3 separate regions of the Homo sapiens genome follow, and all the other regions are linked to region 2. Evidence: promoter capture Hi-C in human tissues and cell types (Jung and others, 2019). All regions are on one chromosome and are shown on one strand. The core of a region is centred on a gene start or on the middle of the fragment in contact, and the rest is flanking DNA. Distances in the headings are between cores, read along the strand shown.

What was found. Contacts are between HindIII fragments. The study calls those that stand out against the background at their distance.
Region 1: a contact is called between a fragment that was not itself captured here and the fragment with the promoter of TPK1 in region 2, in 2 of the 25 tissues and cell types used here (mesendoderm cells and thymus).
Region 3: a contact is called between a fragment that was not itself captured here and the fragment with the promoter of TPK1 in region 2, in 1 of the 25 tissues and cell types used here (hippocampus).

The regions. Positions count from the first base shown.
Region 1 is chr7:145,015,023-145,018,477 of GRCh38, reverse strand. No RefSeq gene overlaps it. Among named protein-coding and RNA genes, the nearest start is that of TPK1, 180 kb to the right of the region's middle. The HindIII fragment of the contact is 4,293 bases long and covers 1-3,455 here.
Region 2 is chr7:144,834,803-144,838,243 of GRCh38, reverse strand. It overlaps TPK1 (thiamin pyrophosphokinase 1), which reads left to right and starts at 2,191. Exons shown (of 9, transcript NM_022445.4): 1 at 2,191-2,277; 2 at 2,626-2,684. The coding sequence starts at 2,642. RefSeq lists an enhancer at 1,981-2,050 and a silencer at 2,351-2,450. The HindIII fragment of the contact is 4,228 bases long and covers 1-2,573 here.
Region 3 is chr7:144,667,152-144,670,197 of GRCh38, reverse strand. The region is part of intron 4 of TPK1 (thiamin pyrophosphokinase 1); the gene reads left to right. Among named protein-coding and RNA genes, the nearest start is that of TPK1, 170 kb to the left of the region's middle. The HindIII fragment of the contact is 3,383 bases long and covers 1-3,046 here.

The sequences.
Region 1 (3,455 bases), core at 625-3,124, 180 kb before region 2:
AGAAATAATACATTAAATTTTGTAAAGTATAATCTTTATATATTAGTGTTTTGATCTATATAAGAAAGATTCCCAGAATTGGGATTGCTGGATAAAAGGCTATATATATTTTTAGTTACTAATTTTCATTATTACCTGAGACAACTTCCAACATACGCATGCCCTTTGCCTTTTTGACAGCATTGAGCTTTATTGCTTTTTATTTTTTGATAATGTGATGAGCAAAAAGTAGAAGCTCATTTTTTTTAATTTACATTTTTCTGCTACAATGGAGGTTGAATATCATCTACTGATTTACTGGCATTTGGGTTTCCTTCTTACCTGAGTTTCCTGTTTGTATACTTATACTTTGCCTCTTGTCTGTTGACTGTTCTCTTTTTCTTATCAATGCTTTTGGTAAACTCTATATATTAACGCTTTATCTGACAGAAATACTGTAATTATTTCCCTGAGACTATTGCTTTTAGCTTAATTTTGCTTATATATTTTTTCTGGGCTTATATACCTTTTAATCTTTAGGGAGTTTTTAAGGTTCATGGGTTTGTTTTCTTGCTTAAACAAATATTCTTTAAGATATTTAAAAATGTTTTTCTATGTTTTCTTCCAAACTTCTTATTTTTTAATATTTAAACTACTATCTATGTTACATTTCAATTTCTACATAATGTGAGGCAGGACAATATGCTCGTATTTTTTTCAATTGAACAGCCATTTTTGCTAGCACCGCTTATTAGAGAAACCATCTGCTTCAATAAATGAACTGAAATGCAACAGTTGTCACATATCACATTTCTGCATATAGTAGATATATTTCTGGTTCTCTTCTACTAATCTGTTTACCTATTCCTTTGCTATTATCTTTCTTTTATTCTAGTGACTTTGTAATCAGCTTTAGTATCTGACAAGCCAAGAACCCTAACACTATTTGATTGTTTCATAATTTGGGAAGCCATTTTCTAATATTTATCCATTTTAGTTTTAAACATGATATTCTATTTTTTAAAAAAAGTGAAGTAGCACTTTGTTAAATGTTTATATTTATTTGAAAATAGAAAATAAATGTTCTGCATCCTGAAACATGGTATGACTTGAAACTTTATTTAGATCTTTTTCCCTTAATACAATGTATAGATTTCTCTTTGGAGATACTGATCAGTCTTTTAAAATTTATTCCAAAGTATTTTATAGTTTTGTCAGCATTTTATTGTTTTTCATTTTCAATTCAAACAAACTGTTTTCAGTATAGATAAGACGTATGAGTTTTGTAAGGTTATTCTTTATCCAGCTAGCTTATCATCTTCTCTTATTAATCTTAGTAGATTTTTACTAGGGTATATATCCATAAGTCAAAGATAAAACAACCAAAGAAAAAATATTTGTAACAATATGACAGATAAAAGATATATTTCTTTAACATACAGAAAACTCTTACAAACCAATAAGAAAAAACAAAAATGTAATCGGAAATCCTATAAAGAGCATAAAAATGTAACCACAAAAGGCAAACACAAAGAAAAACAGAAGTAGCTTATAAACATTTCAAACAATACTAAAACTCATGACATTAAAGAAACGCAAATTAAAACTAGAATCAGATTAACAAAAATTACCGCTAGATTAGCAAACATTTTAGTTGGATATCATATAGCTTTTAAATGGCAATAAGACTGAAGTATTCTCATCAGCACTCTTAACGGTAAATTCAATTTAAATTACATTTATGTTCAATAGGTACTACCTATTTGGAGAGAAATTTACCAATATTTATAAAAATGTTAAATTCATGTACCTGCCAATAATAAATATACATTATAAATTTCCAAAACAGAATCTTTTGCATAAAGAATGATTAACTAGAAATCTCTGATGTATCTAAGAACTATCAATAAATCAGCTTAGAGCATAAACATTCCTATAGAGCAGGGGCAAAACACAGATTGAAAACAAAGACAAGAATGAGATTGTGTAATGGAAGAAGAGCAGTATATTCCTTTTTCAGTTCCAAAATGTCTGGGAGGACCCGTAGTGCAGTGCATTATCAGAACAAATACATTTCTACTAGATAGCCACTGAAGCACACAAAGTAACAAGAATGCACAGATATTTCCTTCACTCCTTACAAATGCACCCTTTATGCCTAAAAAATAGCTACTTCACTCTGAATACTCTCCTCGCTTTCTTTCATGCCCCTTGAGCCTCCTCTACTGGTCGTCCTTGACCCTAGGGCTCCAGGCTCTAACTTGAAGGAGTTACATAAGAGGCTCTGCTGCTGTTCAATGGAAATTCAGTGAATCACTAGATGGGATGGGATAGATACTTAAGAGTAGAGCCATTGTAAAATATAAAACCTTTCTCTCTTGGCTGCCTTTCACAGCATAAGTCAGCTGCATTATTCTATTAAAAAGTTTGCTCACGCCTGTAATCCCAGCACTTTGGGAGGCCGAGGCGAGCGCATCACGAGGTCAGGAGATAGAGACCACGGTGAAACCCCGTCTGTACTAAAAATAAAAAAAATTAGCCGGGTGTGGTGGCGAACATCTGTAGTCCCACCTACTCGGGAGGCTGAGGCAGGAGAATGGAGTGAACCCGGGAGGCGGAGCTTGCAGTGAGCCGAGATCGCGCCACTGCACTCCAGCCTGGGTGACAGATCCAGACTCTGTCTCAAAAAAAAAAAAAAAATTTGCATACTTATTCCAAAGGTGTACTCCTTGCATAAGGAAGGAATGAATACAGGGTCTGAAAGGAGAAGCGAAACTAAAGCTTATCTTGCCACATCATACTCTGTGGAATGGAGTAAAATATATTAGAGACCAGGATCTTACTGTTATTTGGCTGCTTTCATATATTTCAGCTTCTTCTGCTCTTAAAAAAAAAAAAAAAAAATTCACCTGGGCCCTGGAACGTTCAGTCAGATTCTTCCTATTAGTAACTGAGCCAGGTGTCGACCATGGAAAAGCTGGGAATAAAGGTAATTCTGGAATGCTATTCTCATGGCTGGTAGAGCAATGACTTGGCTGCTCTGGGAGCTGGATTACTGCAGACTGCTGAGGAGTTGCCATGATTCCTTCCCACCTGGGAATAGCACTTCAATAGCTGGTAAAGATGCAAAGTCTGGCCAGGACACAGCAGTGGACCAAGTTCACCAAAGCTGACCTCCAAGGAAAAACTCCAAGTTCCAACAATTAAGATAATAGTAGAGTAAACTGAAAAGCTATTTCATTTTTTAAATGGGTGCTTTTATACAGATACTGAAGGAGAACAAGATATTTCAAAGCTTGAAGATTAAGTCCGCAGAGACCATGAATGATGGAAAACCTGTGTGGTTTTTTTTTCACCTCTGTAGATATAAAAATGCATGTACCCTTCAACTCACTAGAGTCATTTGACCTATTTCTGTACATTGTGCTTGACTAGAACCCAACATTCAGTTTCAGGGCCAGCACTTCCATGTAATT
Region 2 (3,441 bases), core at 942-3,441:
TTGTAATGAATATATTAATGGAAATATTTGAAGTATTGTGAAAATTACCAAAATATGACGCAGAGACACGAAGCAGGTACACGCTTTCGGAAAAATGTTGCAGATAGACCTGCTTGATGCAGGCTTGCCACAAACTTTCAATTTGTAAAAGCGGTATCTGTAAAGCACAATAAAGCTAAACACAATAAAAGGAGGTATGCCTGTAATTCCTGGTATGAAGTACCATAATTCTCCATTTTTTTCCCATTATTTGTTAATTTATTTCACATTTACTGAACTTATCTTGGTGAGACACACTGTGTGGCTGGAGAAATAGCAGGGAAGGAAATAGACAAGGCTCCTGCCCTTAGAGAGCTAGCTCTCTAGTAGGGGGAGACAAATCATTAACAAGTAAACTGTGCTAGAGTGAGGATTCAAGGGCCAACAACTAAATTTTGGTCCTTGTTTTCCTGGAGCCTACATTTTAGGGTAATTAAATAAAATATAAAAGACCTCAACACTGACTGGAACATAATAATTGATCAGTAAGTGTAAATTTTTATTACTGCTTAAAAAATTGGTTACAATCTGCCATTGAATTCATTGTTCAAGATTTCGTTCTGAATATTGGTGATGTGTTTTTGCCATTTGACTACCTTCTATAATTTGCCTTGCCTGTTTATATCCTTGGTCATAATTTTTCTGGTTTGCCTTTTACTAATGGACATGTAGTTCTGAGGCAGAATAGGGTCTGGAGGCAGGGAATGTTAAGGCCGATTCATGCTGACTTCCTGGAACTAAATCAAATTGCAGTACTTCAGCAATGACAGGAAACATCCTCTCCATTTACACAGGGCTTATATCCAGTAAATGACTTTAAAATTTACTTCATCCTCTTCATTTACATAGGGCATAAGCCAAGTAACCAATGGAAACCTCTAGCTGGCATTTAAACCCCAGAACATTCTCTAACGGCACTCTTGAGCCCCTATCCTCGGGCGCTCCCAACCTATGGGGTGTACTTTCATCTTCAATAAATCTCTGTTTTTGCTTCATTCTTTCCTTGCTTTGTGCGTTTTGTCCAATTCTTTGTTCAAGACGCCAAGAACCTGGACACATCAACTGGTAACAGCTCTTCATAGGATAAACACATGGCAACCACTTGTCTATTACATGTGCAGATAGTTTCCTTGTACCCCAATTGTCTTTTAGGTTCATTAAGGTCATATTTAAACATGGACTTTTGAAATTTGTTGTAGCTAAACCCGTATATAAGCATTTAGGCTTCCTCCTTCTTTGGGTCTTTTCTTGTGGACTCCCATGCACATAGCTGTAAGCTTTTCCCCTGTTAAACTGTCTTAAGTCAATTTAACCTCTTAGGCCCAGGTGGAAACCTTAAGAGGGTAGAGGGAGATTAGGTTCGCTCACTATTGGAAAAGCCTGTATTGCAACAGTGACGCTCTGCAGCTGCAGATAGGTGGCTTAAAGTTTCTTCCAACAAAAACATTCTGTTTCCACAAAGCAAAGTAAGGAAAGCTCTTAACGGAGTGTTCCCTAAAGAAAGCTTTTTTTTTTTCTTTGAGATGGAGTCTCGCTTTGTCGCCCAGACTGGAGTGCACTGGTGTGATCTTGGCTCACTGCAACCTCCGGCCTCCCGGGTTCAAGCGATTCTCCTGCCTCGGCCTCCCGAGTAGCTGGGCCTACAGGCGCGCGCCACCATGCCCGGCTAATTTTTTGTATTTTTAGTAGAGACGAGGTTTCACCATGCTGGCCAGGCTGGTCTCGAACTTCTGACCTCATGATCCGTCCGCCTCGGCCTCCCAAACTGCTGGGATTACAGGCGTGAGTCACCGCACCCGGCCAGGAAGGAAAGCTTTTAACCCGACGGCTCAGGGAGGACACCGGTAGCAGGACTAGAAGCAGCACAGTGGAAAGTAAGTTTGGCTTGGAAGCTAGGTCAAGCATGGGTGATAGGGAATTCGCCACTTAGTTTGAAGCAAATGGCCTCCTTGTTAAAGCTGAGTGCAGAGGGCCCGGCAGCAGTACTACAGCTAGCAGAACCAGCCCAGAAAACGAAGCCTTGGAGACTTGAGGTGGGTAGTGCCGGACGCAGAGCACAGGGCGCGGCTCCCACTTGCCTCCGGCTCCCGGAAGCGGGCGGGGCCACCTCGCGTCCCGGGGGCTAAAACCTGCGAGCGAGGACCGCGCGCCAAGGCTCCTCAGCCGAGCGCCGAGCGGTCGATCGCCGTAGCTCCCGCAGCCTGCGATCTCCAGTCTGTGGCTCCTACCAGCCATTGTGTAAGTGCGACTGCTGCCGGGCGCGCGGGCCGCGGAAGGGGGCGGCCGCCTCTCGCTCCCCAGGTTCCCGGATGGTGATGGGTTCGCGGAGAGAGGCGGCAGGGGCAACCCCTCGGACCTCATAGCGGCCCGCGCGGCCGGTCTCCGGGGGCCCCCGCCCGCGGCGGTGCTGTAGGCGAGCCGTGGCGGGTCCCCAGCGCCGGGTGCTGCGCCGCAGCTCAGCTGGCTCCTGGGTCCCGGAGCGCGCCGCTGCCGAGTGCCAGGTTCAGGCGGCTCCCGTGCTGTTGGTTCTGCGCGATGTTTAATTAAAACTGAGAGTCTAACTTCACTTTTTTTTTTTTAATGCAGAGGCCAATAATCCGTTATGGAGCATGCCTTTACCCCGTTGGAGCCCCTGCTTTCCACTGGTACTGTATTTCTTTCCACGGTTTAGTGTCACTGACGTGCCCCTCCCCAGCGACGGGAACAGGTCGAAAGGACGGGGCTCTAGAGCCAGCGTGACTTCCAGCCTGGGTTCTGTCCCTGATTTCCTAGCTCTGTACCGCTAAGCATATCAGCCTCTCGCCGGTCTCATTTTCCTCATCTGAAAAATGAGCTTACGTATCAGTCCTTGCTGTGAGGACGAAATGACAAGATACAGTGTGTGTAGTCCGTGTGGAGCCCAGTAAGCGCTTCCCGGCTGTTGCGCCTCCACCAACAGCGCGAACAAATCTGGAACATAGCGGAACATTAGACATTGCAGGCATTAAGGACGGTCATCGTTGCCTGACCGTGATGCATTTTTAATCCATTGAAAGTGCCCCGAGCTTATCTAATAAAAGATTGGCAAATGATTATATCAAGTGTTTTAAATCTATATAACACTCAGGATATTTTATTCTTCTAAGATTTGAAATTACTGTGTAACCGAGTTCAGGCTGGGCTGCTCGCTGCTTGCAGAGCCAATCAACAAGGACGAAGGGCCCGGAAAGGAAAGTGACTACTTTCCAAAGCTAGCAATGGGGAAGTAGTCCAAGCTTCTGCCTTAACGAAACCATTTCAAATTTGGACAAAATGTAAGAGCTTATAAAGGGGCGCTTGGTATTGGGGCTCGGGGGCCCCAGTCTACGTGACTTGCTCAGATATTTATCTTGGGTTTTTGCCTCATCTGGTGAATGGGCTGGC
Region 3 (3,046 bases), core at 204-2,703, 170 kb after region 2:
ATCAAGTAAGAATACAGGAGGCAAGGATTATCAAAGTGAGATTTTAGCCAAATTGTGTGACAGAAATCTGAACTGAACTTATTTATTTTAATTGAGCTTATTTGTTCAATTTTAAATAAAACCGTATTCAAGTAATTTTTGATGCAGTCATAATTACAAAATATATAAAGATAAATTAAACACCTCGAATTTGTATCATTTAGTATTTACCTTTCTTTTAAACTTTATATATTTTAAAAGGCAAATTCTCTGCTATCGCCTCTAACTTTTCCCCCACCTATGGACATAGGATTATTATAATGAATTTGGGGAATAGAGGAAGACATAAAGAAAAAAGTTAAAATAACCTAAAATCCCACTTCTATAGATAACGTCTGTTAATATTTTTACATATATAATTTTTTTCAATTTTACATTTTTGTATGTTTATTGCTCTGTGTATGTATGTGTGTACATGTAATGAAATACAGATTTTTATCTATATATTGCTTTATATCATGCCTGTTTTTAACATTATATTATGAACATGCTACCAAGTCATTATATATAAATTTTGTTACATTTTTATCTCTCAACCATTCTCCATATATCAGAAAGTTATGTAGCTCATAAGTTGTGTGTTTTTTTTTTTTTTGAGACAGAGTCTCACTTTGTCACCCAGGCTGGAGTGCAGTGGCGCAATCTTGGCTCACTACAACCTCTGCCTCCCGGGTTCAAATGATTCTCCTGCCTCAGCCTCCTAAGTAGCTGGGACTATAGACGTGCGCCACCACGCCCGGCTAATTTTTGTATTTTTAGTAGAGACGGGGTTTCGCCAGGCTGGTCTCAAACTCCTGACCTTAGGTGATCCACCCACTTTGGCCTCCCAAAGTGCTGGGATTACAGGCGTAAGCCACTGCGCCCAGACAGCTTATAAGTTTTTTATAAGTAAATCTTTGGTAAATAAAACTTTGTTAAGTATTATAAAAACATTAAGTAGTATTATAAGTGTATGAGTTTGTGACACTTACAGTAGTTTCACAGACGTTAAGACATGCTCCAGAAGTTATAAATTTTAAAAAATGTATTTAAGTCTAAGTTGACAACTTGCTTTCCAGAATATTGTTGCTTAAGTTAACCTTCATCAACAGTATAAGACAATTTACATTTCTCTCTGCTCTTGCCAGATTTATTAACTTAAGTTTTTTTGATATATTATGTAGGAAATCATATTCCATTATTATTTTAGCATATTTTAATTATGGAGTCATTCTATATAACAGGCATTATTGTAGTCACCTATGATGCAGCGGAGAGCAAAATACTTGACTTCATTGACCTCCCATAGAGGAAATAAGCAAGACAAATAATTAAAATATTAAGTATATTACTAGTGAGAAGGAGAATAATAACGCAGGAGAAGAGGTAGCATGCTTTGCAGTAGGTTGTTAGCAGTTAAAGTGAGGGAGAGCCTCACTGAGCAGGTGACTTCTGAGTTAAGACCTGCAGGGGGTGGAGAAGCAAGCCATTTGCTCAGCCAAAGGAAGAACCTTCCAGGAAGTGGGGATGCTTGTGCAGAGGCCCTGAGACATGAGAATGATATCAGTTAGCTTTTGCTGTATCATAAGCTACCCCCAAAATTAATGGCTTTAAACACTGATTTATTTATTTACTCACAAGTCTAAGGTCAGCTAGGCAGATCTTGTGGGCTCATTCATGTGCCAGTTACGTGGGTTGGTAAAGGAAAACTGTTCCTGTACTCACAACACTTCTGCCACTAAACATCTGGGTTTTATACATCAAACAATTTGCCAGTTGTCTGTGGCCACCAACTGGGTGTCCGACAATTTAATTCAATCTGACATTATTCAGAGTAAGCACAGACCACCACCCTCCAACACACACACAGGTAAAGGACTTAGTCCTACTAGATTGCCATGCACTTTAAATGCCAGTTGCAACTAGTGGGTCCCCAGAACTCCCTCCTCGTGTTTGGTAATTTGCTATAATGGCTCACAGAACTCAGGGAAACACTTATGTTTACAATTTATTATAAAAGGATGTTATAAAGGATGAATGTGAACAGCCAGCTGATGTGGTACAGAGGGTGGGATCTGGAGAAGTCCTAAGGCAGGAGCTTCTGTCCCCCTTGGCTTTGGGATACACTACCCTCCCGGCATGTGGATATGTTCCCCAACCTGAAAGCTCTCTGAACCACATTGTTTAGGGTTTTTAAATGGGGGTTCTGTTACATGGGCATGATTGATTACATCATTGGCCATCGGTGATTAGCATAATCTGTAGCTCCACTGGGAGTGGTGGGTATGAACGTTCCACACTCTGATCATGCCTTTGTCTTTCTTGGGTATCAGCCTCCAACTTGAAACTCTCCTCGAGGCCCCCAGCCACCAGTCATCTCATCAGGACACCGAAAGACACCCATTACTGTGGAGCTTCCAAGGGTCTTGGCAACTCTTTTATCGGAAACGAGAGGTGAAGACCAAATGTATATTTCCTCTTATATCATGATATCACAGTTGGGTAGGCAGTTTTGTTGATGATGTCAGCATGTAGAAAGGACCCACATGTTTAGAGGTTGGATGTCTGTAAGCTGTACCTGACTCCAGTCTCATCCTCCATCCATCAGGCATGCTCAGAATTACTCTCATGGTAACAGGGGAGGGTTCCAAGAGAGCAAAGGGAAGGCTGCAGCTCCACTTGAAGCCTCTATTCCTAACTGCCATGCTGTCACTTCTACTGCATTTTTTAAGTGAAAGCAGGTTTCAAGGCTAATACAAATTATTGAGGTGGGGAAAGGGATGCATATTAATAGCTTGTGATGAAACAGTCTGGAAAGTCACATTATAAAGGGGTATAGATTGGGAGGAGGAAATAATTATGGATAATTGTGCAAACAATCTGCAAGTGGAGATAATGAGGGGAACTTACTAGGAAGGAGAGTGATCAGAAAGATAACAGGGTAGATCTTAAAGTTCCTTTGTAGATAGTATTGATGATTTACTATGAATGAGATGGGAAGTCACTGGAAGGTTTTCAGCAGAGGAAT